2 separate regions of the Homo sapiens genome follow, and region 1 is linked to region 2. Evidence: promoter capture Hi-C in human tissues and cell types (Jung and others, 2019). All regions are on one chromosome and are shown on one strand. Each heading gives the region's core, a stretch centred on a gene start or on the middle of the fragment in contact. The rest is flanking DNA. Distances are from core to core; before and after follow the strand shown.

Region 1 (5,359 bases), core at 768-3,267, 1.2 Mb after region 2:
CCGGTGGGGGTGGGCCTGGCTTGTTGGGGAGACGAGCCAGGAGGTGAAGGTGGGGGTGGGGGTGGGCCTGGCCTGTTGGGGAGAGGAGCCAGGAGGTGAAGGTGGGGGCCGACTTCTTCCCAGGGTCCCTCTCACTGCCAGGCTGAGGATGTACTGTGGGGCCCAGGTGGGAGCTGAGATGGGGAAGGCCTTTCCAGAAGGAGGAGCTGGGAGAGAGGCCAGGTGGACGTGGAATCTCTAGGACTGGGGACCTTGAAGCAGCAGATAGAGCGGCGGCTCAGGGCAGTCTCCCTCCAGGTCTGAGTGCATGGAGGGACACGGCGTCCGAAGCCACCCTAAGCTGGGGTGGAATCTCACTGCACCCTTTCTGAGCGATGTGGCCTTGGGGGGGCCGATGGAGTTGCCTGTCCTGTAGGTGACTGCTGGCCCCCAGGCTTCCGTAGGGTTAAATGAGATGGTGTTGGCAACACGCCCCCCAAAACCTGGCCATAAACTGGTCCCAAAACTGGCCATAAACAAAATCTCTGCAGCACTGTGACATGTTCATGACGGCCATGACGCCCACGCTGGAAGGTCGTGGGTTTACCAGAATGAGGGCAAGGAACACCTGGCCCACCCAGGGCGGAAAACTGCTTAAAGGCATTCTTAAGCCACAAACAATAGCGTGAGCGATCTGTGCCTTAAGGACATGCTCCTGCTGCAGGTAACTAGCCAGACCCATCCCTTTATCTTGGCCCATCCCTTCGTTTCCCATAAGGGATACTTTTAGTTAGTCTAATATCTACAGAAACAATGCTTATCACTGGTTTGCCGTTAATAAATACGTGGGTAAGTCTCTGTTCGAGGCTGTCAGCTCTGAAGGCTGTGAGACCCCTGATTTCCCACTCCACACCTCTCTATCTCTGTGTGTGTGTGTCTTTAGTTCCTCTAGCGCTGCCGGGTTAGGGTCTCCCCGACCGAGCTGGTCTCTGCAAGGTGGTGTGTGGCTCCCACTTGGGAGGCCTCCAGTTACTGGCACTGTCATCACCATGCCCACTGAACAAAGTGGACCAAGCCCCAGAGGCAGCCAAAACCACACCTTTCTGCAGGGAGGGTAAACTGAGCCCGCGAGCTCAGGGCAAGCGCACCAGGCGCATATGCTGGCCTTCATCTGTCCTCAGCTCCTCCCTGCGGGCACAAGCGGGGGCAGCTGAATCTTCCACGCGAGAAGCCTAAGAGTAGGGATACGGGGGCGGGGAGCAGCAGGCCTGCTCTGTGTGTAAACAACGGGAAAGCAGGAATAACGCCAGGGCCCGCGGACACCAGCTGCCTCCGAAGTCCCGCTGCCCGGCGCCTGCATGGAGCAGCCTCCTGAGCGCAGTGTGGCGCGTCCTCCTGTGTAAAGAGGGTAGAGCCGCGCCGGGTCCCTCCCTCTGCAGCCGTGAAGCCCCCGCGGGGCCCTGCAGGTGGCTGGCGGCACCTGCACACGGTGGTTCTCTGTTCCTTTTTCCTCCTCAACCACTGAGGTTAAAAAAAGTGTTAAAAGCCACCCTTTTTGTTTTTTTGAGACGGAGTCTCGCTCTGTCGCCCAGGCTGGAGTGCAGTGGTGCGATCTCGGCTCACTCCGAGCTCCGCCTCCCGGGTTCACGCCGTTCTCCCGCCTCAGCCTCCCGCGTAGCTGGGACTACAGGCGCCCGCCACCGCGCCCGGCTAATTTTTCGTATTTTTAGTGGAGACGGGGTTTCACCGTGTTAGCCAGGATGGTCTCGATCTCCTGACCTCGCGATCCGCCCGCCTCGGCCTCCCGAAGCGCTGGGATGACAGGCGTGAGCCGCCGCGCCCGCCCATTTTTTTTAAACGTGTTGGGGTTTGGGTTTCAGCCACAGGCCTTCTGCGATGAGAGGAAACCCAGGACGCGCAGCCCCAGGTCAGGCCCGCGGAACAGCCGGGCGGACTCCGGGGCTCGCAGACTCGCGACCCGCGTGCCATGAACCTCCGCGCCGGAGGCGGCAGCAGCGAGCGCGGGGCTGGATCCAGCGTAGCGGGGCGGCCGGGCGGATCCAGCGCAGCCGGGAGACAGATGCGAGGCGGCGGTCAGGTGAGCGGCGCGGGGCCGGCGGGGTCGGGGCCGGCGGGGACGGGGCCGGCGGGGACGGGGCCGGCGGGGACGGGGTCGGCGGGGTCGGGGCTGGGAGGGACGGGGCCGGCGGGGACGGGGTCGGCGGGGACGGGGCTGGGAGGGACGGGGCCGGCGGGGACGGGGCCGGCGGGGACGGGGCCGGCGGGGTCGGGGCTGGGAGGGACGGGGCCGGCGGGGACGGGGTCGGCGGGGTCGGGGCTGGGAGGGACGGGGCCGGCGGGGACGGGGCCGGCGGGGACGGGGCCGGCGAGGTCGGGGCCGGCGGGGACGGGGCTGGGAGGGCGGCCCGCCCGGCGCAGGGGCCTCGAGACCTCGGCCGCCCCACCCCGGGGACGCCGCCGCTGCTCCGGCGTCCACACCAGCTGCGTGCGGAGCACCCGGGCGGCTCAGGGGACCCGCGTGGCCGTGCCCCCGCCCTGGGCTGCTCCGAGCCTCAGTTTCCCCCTCGGTGGAACGGGTGGGTGGGAGAGACCTGCCCCCGAGGAGCCCGGGAGACCGGGCGAGCTCCCGCGGGTGTGGTGGGTGGGGAGGCACAGTGCTGGGGTGGCTTCTCCCTGCAGCAGGTGCCGAACCCACGGCCAGGCTTCCGTGGCCAGCAGCCCTAGAGGAATGGCCATCCTGTCCCTGCGAGCCCCTGGGCCCTGGCAGGCGATGCAGGTATGGGCAGACAGGACGCTGTTGACTCCGCACACCGGGGTGACTTCTCAGGTTCTCGGGGTGGCAGCTGCAGTGATGACACCGCTTCCTGGTGGTCACGCCGCGGGCAGGACGCGGGAGGCCAGGTCCGTGCATCCCGCGTGTCCTGAGCTTCGGCCCAGGGTCCCTCCGTGCCCCGGAACCCCGCCGGCTTTCTTCGGCTTCCTTTCATTGCTAAGTTGTGGGGTCCTCCCCGATGAGAGCAGTGGGCTCTAGAGGAGGGGCAGGGGGTGGCCAGACCTCTTGCTTTCACTCTTCCACTTCCTGCCCGCTCCTTTCTGAGGCCAAGTCCCACATCTGGGTGCAGAACTGGTGGGGTGAGCCTGGTGAGAGGGGCAGGCTGGCGTTCTGCTCAGAGTCGGCCACTGTGGCCGGCATCCCCAGGTCTGTGTGAGCAGAAGCTAAGGCTGCGAGGCCAGCGGCCTCCCCTCATTCATCCCCTGCCCGTGCGCCAGGCCTGGGGCTGGCACTGACTGTCAGTAAATAGGCAAATAAAAGATGCCTTTTTTCACAGCCCGGAGGAGAGCTGGTAGCCTAGAGTACAGCTGCTGGGCAGAACGGAGGTGTCCCTGCCAGCGTGCCTTCCTTGACGCTCCTCTGGCCATGTTTTAAACACCAGGAGGTTTCCAGCGGCTTCCCCAGGCGTAGCTCCTGCACCTTTTTCCTGGGCTGGTCACCATATGTGATGACAGTGCCAGTCTGTTCTGAGCAGCTCTGGGCTCCTGGCTTCACTGACATCATAAACAAGTCCTTAGCCCTTCCATCCACCCCAGAAAGTAGGTGTTCCCCCTGATTTATAGGCAAGACAATGGAGAACCAGAGTCTAAATCAGGGCTGATTTTTTTTTTTTTTTTGAGATGGAGTTTTGCTGTGTTGCCTAGGCTGGAGTGCAGTGGCACAATCTCGGCTCACTGCAACCTCCACCTCCCGTGTTCAAGTGATTCTCCTGCCTCAGCTTCCCAAGTAGCTGGATTACAGGCATGCACCACCATGCCCAGCTAATTTGTTTGTGTTTTTAGTACAGACGGGGTTTCACCATGTTGGTCAGGCTGGTTTGAACTCTTGACCTCAAATGATCCACCCGCCTCAGCCTCCCAAAGTGAGCCACCACACACCGGCCATGATTCTTAAAAATAACAGTAATAGGCCAGGCATGGTAGCTCACACCTATAATCCCAGCAATTTGGGAGGCAGAGGCAGGAGGGTTGCTTGAAGCCAGGAGTTTGAGACCAGCCTGGGCATCAGAGTGAGACTCCGTCTCTACAAAAAGTTAAAAAAAATTAGCTGAGTGTGGTGGCACACACTGGAGTTCCAGCTACTTGGGAGGCTAATATGGGAGGACCCCTTCAGCCCAGGAGTTTGAGGCTGCAGTGAGCTGTGATCGCACCACTGCACTCCAGCTCGGGTGACAGAGCAACACCCTGTCTCAAAAAAAAGTAATAATGATAAATTATAATCAATATTTATTGGGTGCTTACTATGTGCCGGCCAGTGTTCTCTGAACTTAGTATTAACTACTTTAATCTTGACAATAACCCTGTATGGTACTATTGTAATCCCCATTTGAGACATGGGAGAATGGAGGCAGAGAAACGTTTATCCACTTACCCAAGGTCACACAGCTAGGAGCTAGCAGAGTTGGGATTCAAGCTGGACGTGTCTGTCTTGTTACCATGAAACTATTGGGATCATCAGTCAGAATCTTTTCTTTTTTTTTTTTCTGAGATGGAGTCTCACTCTGTCACCCAAGCTGGAGTGCAGTGGCTCAATCTCGGCTCACCTCCTGGGTTCAAGCGATTCTCCTGCCTCAGCCTCCCAAGTAGCTGGGATTACAGATGCCCACCACCACGCCCGGCTAATTTTTGTATTTTTGGTAGAGACGGGGTTTCACCAGGTTGGCCAGGCTGGTCTCGAACTGCTCACCTCAGGTGATCAGCCCACTTCTGCTTCCCAAAGTGCTGGGATTACAGGCGTGAGCCACCGAGCTGGGTCTTTCAGTCAGAATCTACTTTGGCCGCAAGAGACAAAAACCTCCCCTATAACACTGGTGGGAATATCGTATTTCTCTCACTTGAATGAAGTCTGGCTGTGAGCAGCTTAGGGCTCAGGTGCAGTCCCCTGCAATCACGTCACTCTCCCCAGTGTGGCTATTCCAGCTGCAGCCTTTACATCTGCATTCCAGGCAGCAGGAGGCAGGGATGGCTGAAGAGGGGCAGCCCCTACCTTTAAGGACAATTCTCAGAAGTCTTTTCTTTTTTCTCATATGTATGTATACACACACACACATATATATGTATATACACACACATACATATTTATGTAAAAAAGATTTTTTTTTTTTTTGATATGGAGTCTCGCTCTGTTGCCCAGGCTGGAGTGCAGTGGTGCGTTCTCGGCTCACTGCAAGCTCCGCTTCCTGGGTTCACGCTATTCTGCTGCCTCAGCCTCCCGAGTAGCTGGGGCTACAGGCGCCTGCCACCACACCTGGCTAATTTTTTGTATTTCTAGTAGAGACAGGGTTTCAATGTGTTAGCCAGGATGGTT
Region 2 (5,081 bases), core at 2,416-4,915:
GGGAGCTGATGCTCAGAAGGGGCCCCCAAGCCACAGAGGAAAGCAGCTCCCACCCTACTCTGCCACGGCCATGCTCTTCCCAGCACCCTCGGATGGGACAGGCCAGGGTTCTGTGCAGGTCCTGAGACCCGGGCACAGGCCTCCGAAGGGTGACTCTGCCATGCTCAGCTCAGAGGGTCTGCACTGCTGAGCAACTGTGAGCCGAGTGCCTGCTGTTCCCCAGCTTCTCGGCCGCCTCCCAGGAGTGGTGAGACCCTGATGGTGACAATGTTCTGAAAAAGGAGGCAGCATCCCTCATGCTAAATGGTGACACTTCTCAGTGACAATCAGCCTGAAGGAGGTGACGCCCAGCTTGCCGGCCGTGGGTGTGCCCCTAGGCTGTGCCACGAGGCACCCTGAAAAGCAGAAGCCATATTGTCAGCCCACGTGGGTGTCCCACAGTCAGTGACACGGTGGCTCCTCTCGCACCAGCTGGCTTTCCGCAGCCCTGTCTAGATTTCCCACTGATAGAACTGGAGGTGCGGTCCCATATTATCAGAATCACAAATGTCCTGCCCTTTTTTTTCCTTTTTCTTTTTTGAGACAGGGTCTGTCACCCAGGCTGGAGTGCAGTCATACAATCATGGCTCACTGTAGCCTCCAACTCCTGGACTCAAACAATCATCCCACCTTGGCCTCCTGAGTAGCTGGGACTACAGGTGCACTACCACCATGCCCAGCTAATTTTTAAATATTTTTCATAGAGATGGGGATCTCTACGTTGCCCAGGCTGCTCTCGAATGGCTACGCTCAAGCAATCCTCCCACCTTGGCCTCCCGAAGCTCTGGGATTACAGGTGTGAGCCATCGCGCCCAGCCCTGCCCTGACATCTCTCTAGAAGAGATGGGCCCTGATCCCCCAAGGCTCCAGCAACATTAGGTGAGACTGCTGAAGGAGGCCCCTGCTCCCTGTGGGTGGGGCAGCTCCCTGCCAGATTTTTGGGTAATGATCCTGCACTGGAGAGGGAGGGCGTGGGGGCCAGGGGCACCCCAGGATGACTCAAACCCTCACCAGGCACTGTCTGAGCCAGCGCAGGCACACACTGACTAATGCCTTCTGAAGGCCTCATTCATTTCCAAAACACGGTAGAACTGCTTCCAGCCAAAGCTCGCCAGAGAGGGAGGGGGCACTCCAAAGACAGCAAAGCCAGTGTCCCACCTCCGGCCAGGCCAGCTGAACCTGCACATCGCGGGTCCATCTGGAGCTGCCCACACCCCAGGGCCAGAGAGCCTGACTCAGGAGTCCCGGCCAGCAGGCAGGCAGGCAGGGTTCTTGGCCGGCTCCACTTCCATCTCCCCCAGGTGACTGAGAGAAAACACTGAGTGAGGCCCAGGCCCCACGCCCCATCCCCAGACACAGAATCAGTGTGGGGTATGGCCCGGGCTTCAGCATCTTTCAAATTAAGAGACTTTATTTGGGACCAGTTTTAGGTTTAAGGAAAGTACCATACAGACAGACAGTCAGTCATCACTATTCTTTAAAAGTTTCATAGAAGACTGACACGGGGCCTGGGTGAGCACCCCTGGGCTACCTCCCCATCCTCCCCAAGGAGGCCAAAAGCAAGAAGAACAGTGATCCCTCCCCCAGATCCCCCACGCGGATAGCAATCGAGAAGGCAGAACCCAGGCCCCCTGACCAATGCCCAGGGGGCAGCAAACCACATGTGCCACAGAATCGGGCTCAACACCTGTTTAGGTACAGCCCATGAACTCAGGAGGGCTTTTACATTTAATGGCTGGAAAAATACCAGAAGAAGAAGATTTTGTGACATGAAAATATTTACCATCTGGTCATTTAAAGAAAAACATTGCCAACTCTGCCCAAGGAGCAGCTGCCATCTGAGAGGGGGGGCATTCCCTGCAGGGAGGACACCCGCTCCCACTCAGACACAAGAGGAAATGGAACGATCAGTGTGAACGGGACGTTTCAGAAGCTTTCCTGTTTCCCTCTCTAAGGCCTGTCAGCTCTAGACTCTGCCTCTGTGCCAGGCTGTCCTGCTTGTTTTCAAGGCACAGGAAGGAACACAGCCGGGCCCTGTTTACGGCCCATCTGACCCTGCACTGGGAGCAGGTCCCAGGCTGCCCAGTCCACACAGGGCTGACCGCACTGAAGAGAGTTGCTCAAAACCTCTCCTCTCCAGCCTCAATGGTTTTCATTGATTCCTGTCTAGAAAATCTTCCCCAAGTTTCACCACCTTTCTGTGCGACCGATCAAAACGCAGTCTGTCTGGGAGCCTCAGGCAGGCGGCTCTAGATCCCCAAAGCTAGCGCTGGGCGAGCTCCCACCTGGAGCGAGGCAAGGGCTCCGAAAGGGCTTTTACAATCAAAAGGCCCCACCTGCCGTGTCCATGGCGGACTCCCAATGCAAACCGTCCCACTTGTCCGTGGGTTAATTCCATCCGACTGCTTCCCAGATCAATCACACGTGGGGAGCCCCCGGGCGGAGGGCGCGGACCCTGGGTCCCGGCTAGGCCAGGGTCGGGGAAGGGTAGGGGTGCCAGGCCGTGCAGCACCAAGCCACCCGGGTGTGCTTCGCGAAAGGGGCACCACTGCCCGGCAAGCAGGGAACACAGATGCCAGGACTGGGGACCCCTGCCCCGCCCTGACACCAGGCCACAGCCTCCGGGGGTGTCCCCTCCCCCAGACCAGGGCAGAGGCCGGCCCCCGCCCCTGCGAAACTGAGCCCAGTAGGGCAAGGGAGGACCAGGGAGGAACCCACACTATTTTTTTCCAAAGTGTGGGACCGCCTCAGTCCGGCAGAGGGGGGTGCAGCGGTGAGCGGGGCTGGGCCCTGGGCACGGACGTTCGTTGGGCTCGGGAAGCTCCAAATTAAACAGCTCCAGGCAGGAAGCCCGCCTTCTCCCAGATTGTCAGGAAGTCCTGATGCAACTTTGCGCTTTTTTTTTTAAACCCGAAAGAGAAAAAGAGATTCGTGCTCCCCCCACCACCGCCGCGGCCCTTCCCACCGGGGCAAACACCGCCTCGCCCGGCGGCCTCCTCTCCGCAGCGCCCCGGCGGAGACGCCAGCCGCGCTATGCCCGGCGCTCGCTCGACCGCCCCCGTGGGCACGCGGTGCCGTCTCCCCCAGCCGCCGCCGCCCTTCCAGCCCGGCCCTGGGACAGGAGCCCCGCCGCCGCCTGGCGCGCTCATGCTTCAGGAATGCGGGCGCCCGGGTCGCGCGTCCCTGGGAATTTCCGCGCCCGCTCGCCCGCAGCCCTCGCCCCGGCCGGCGTCGTCCGGTGTCCAGGCCGTGGGGAGCCGAGACGCAGCCCCCTCCCGTCGCCCCCAGGCGCCCGCCCCCCACTCACCAGCCAGCAGCGCGCAGGGCAGCAGCAGCCAGTACAGGACCGCGCCGAGCACGTGCGGCTCCATGGCTGGAGGGCCCAGGGCCCGGCCCAGACCGAGCGGACGCCGCGGCGCTATGGGGCGGTGCGGGGGCCCCGGGGCCGGCGCGCCATGGCTGACCCGCGGGGACCCGCGCGCCGCCTTCTCCTCTTCCTCCTTCTCCTTCGGCCGCCCCGCCGGTGCCGACGTCCCGGGCCCGCGCTCGCTCAGGCGACCGCCCTGCCCCTCGGCGGAGCGCAGCGCTCGGCTCACTGGGGCCGAGCTGGGCCGGACGGCGGCTCCCGCCCTCCTCCGCCCGCGGGCCTTTATAAGCTCGGCCCCCTCCCGCCCTCCCCGGCGTGCCCGCCTCCGCGCTTCCCCGACGGCCCGGCGCGCCCAGGCACCCCCTCCGCTGTCCCGCGCGGCCCGTCCCGCCTCCGGCCCGCCCTGGTGCGTTGGGGCCTGGAGACCCCCGACTGGCGCTGGCCCGGAGCGGACCCCTCCCCTCCCGCAGTCTTGGCCCCGCGGCTCCGAGCGTGCGCGGCGGTGGGCAGGGGCGCTTCTCGCTGGGTGGGCTGCGGCTGGGGCCCGGGCGCTACATAAGGGGTCCCGGGGCCTCTGGCTCCCCCAGGCAGCGCCCCACGCGCAACTGCACCCCGCGTGCCCGAGCGACTTTCGCTTTGCTCCCCGAGGCGCGAGCACGCAGCGCCCCCTGGGGACCGTGGGGAGGCTCGGAGTTCCCGCGGCGGCCGGGCCTAGTGGTCCCGGAGGGAGCACGCGGGATGCTCGGGTCGCAGCAGTGCCGCGATCCGCGTTGGTCTGACGGGGGCTCGGGGGCTGCTCCCAGCCACGCCGGCCACCGCGCGCGGCTTTGCCCGGGTCGCTCTGGCGTGAGACGGTGAGAGTGAGAGCCACGGCCTGTGCACCTGCTGCCGCGGCGCCCTGCCACGGAGAGGTAGGGTCTGAGTCCAGGGTGTTCGGGACCCTCACCCAGGCCACGTCAGTTTGGCCTTCGTCTGCCCTTGAGATGGGCACAGAAAGAGGGCAAAGGGCTCTACACCGTTTAATTGGGCTCAGTTCATGGCTCTCAAACTCAGCTGCGTAAGGCAGGGAGTGGGGCTGGGGGGACTGTGGCCACTGAGCCTCAAGGCACTGGCAACTCATGAGAGCCCAGCACAAGCCCACACCCTCCAGCTCAAAAAAAAAAAAAAAAAAAAAAGATGGCGGGGCAGTGGCTCAGGCCTGTAATCCCAGCACTTTGCGGGGCTGAGGCAAGGGGGTAGGGGGTCGGGGGATCACTTGACGTCAGGAGTTCGAGACCAGCCTGGCCAACATGGTGAAACCCCGTCTCTACTAAAAATACAAAAATTAGGCCGGGCGCGGTGGCTCACGCCTGTAATCCCAGCACTTTGGGAGGCCGAGGCGGGTGGATCACCAGGTCAGGAGATCGAGACCATCCTGGCTAACACGGTGAAAACCCATCTCTACTAAAAACATAAAAAATTAGCCGGGCGTGGTGGCGGGCTCCTGTAGTCCCAACTACTCGGGAGGCTGAGGCAGGAGAATGGCATCAACCCAGGAGGCGGAGCTTGCAGTGAGCCGAGATAGCGCCACTGCACTCCAGCCTGGGCGACAGAGCCAGACTCCGTCTCAATAAATAAATAAATAAATAAATAAATAAATAAATAAATATACAAAAATTAGCCGGGCGTGATGGCA

What was found. Contacts are between HindIII fragments. The study calls those that stand out against the background at their distance.
Region 1: a contact is called between the fragment with the promoter of DEF8 here and the fragment with the promoter of PIEZO1 in region 2, in 2 of the 25 tissues and cell types used here (lymphoblastoid cells and spleen).

What each region holds. Positions count from the first base shown.
Region 1 is chr16:89,946,738-89,952,096 of GRCh38, forward strand. DEF8 (differentially expressed in FDCP 8 homolog) reads left to right here and starts at 2,018. Exons shown (of 13, transcript NM_001242818.2): 1 at 2,018-2,077; 2 at 2,680-2,776. RefSeq lists an enhancer at 1,028-1,367 and a silencer at 2,048-2,147. The HindIII fragment of the contact is 40,323 bases long and covers 1-5,359 here.
Region 2 is chr16:88,781,555-88,786,635 of GRCh38, forward strand. PIEZO1 (piezo type mechanosensitive ion channel component 1 (Er blood group)) reads right to left here and starts at 3,666. Exons shown (of 51, transcript NM_001142864.4): 1 at 3,347-3,666. The coding sequence starts at 3,410. RefSeq lists enhancers at 1-324, 335-414, 2,897-3,810 and silencers at 2,495-2,814, 3,315-3,794, 3,835-4,164. The HindIII fragment of the contact is 3,328 bases long and covers 532-3,859 here.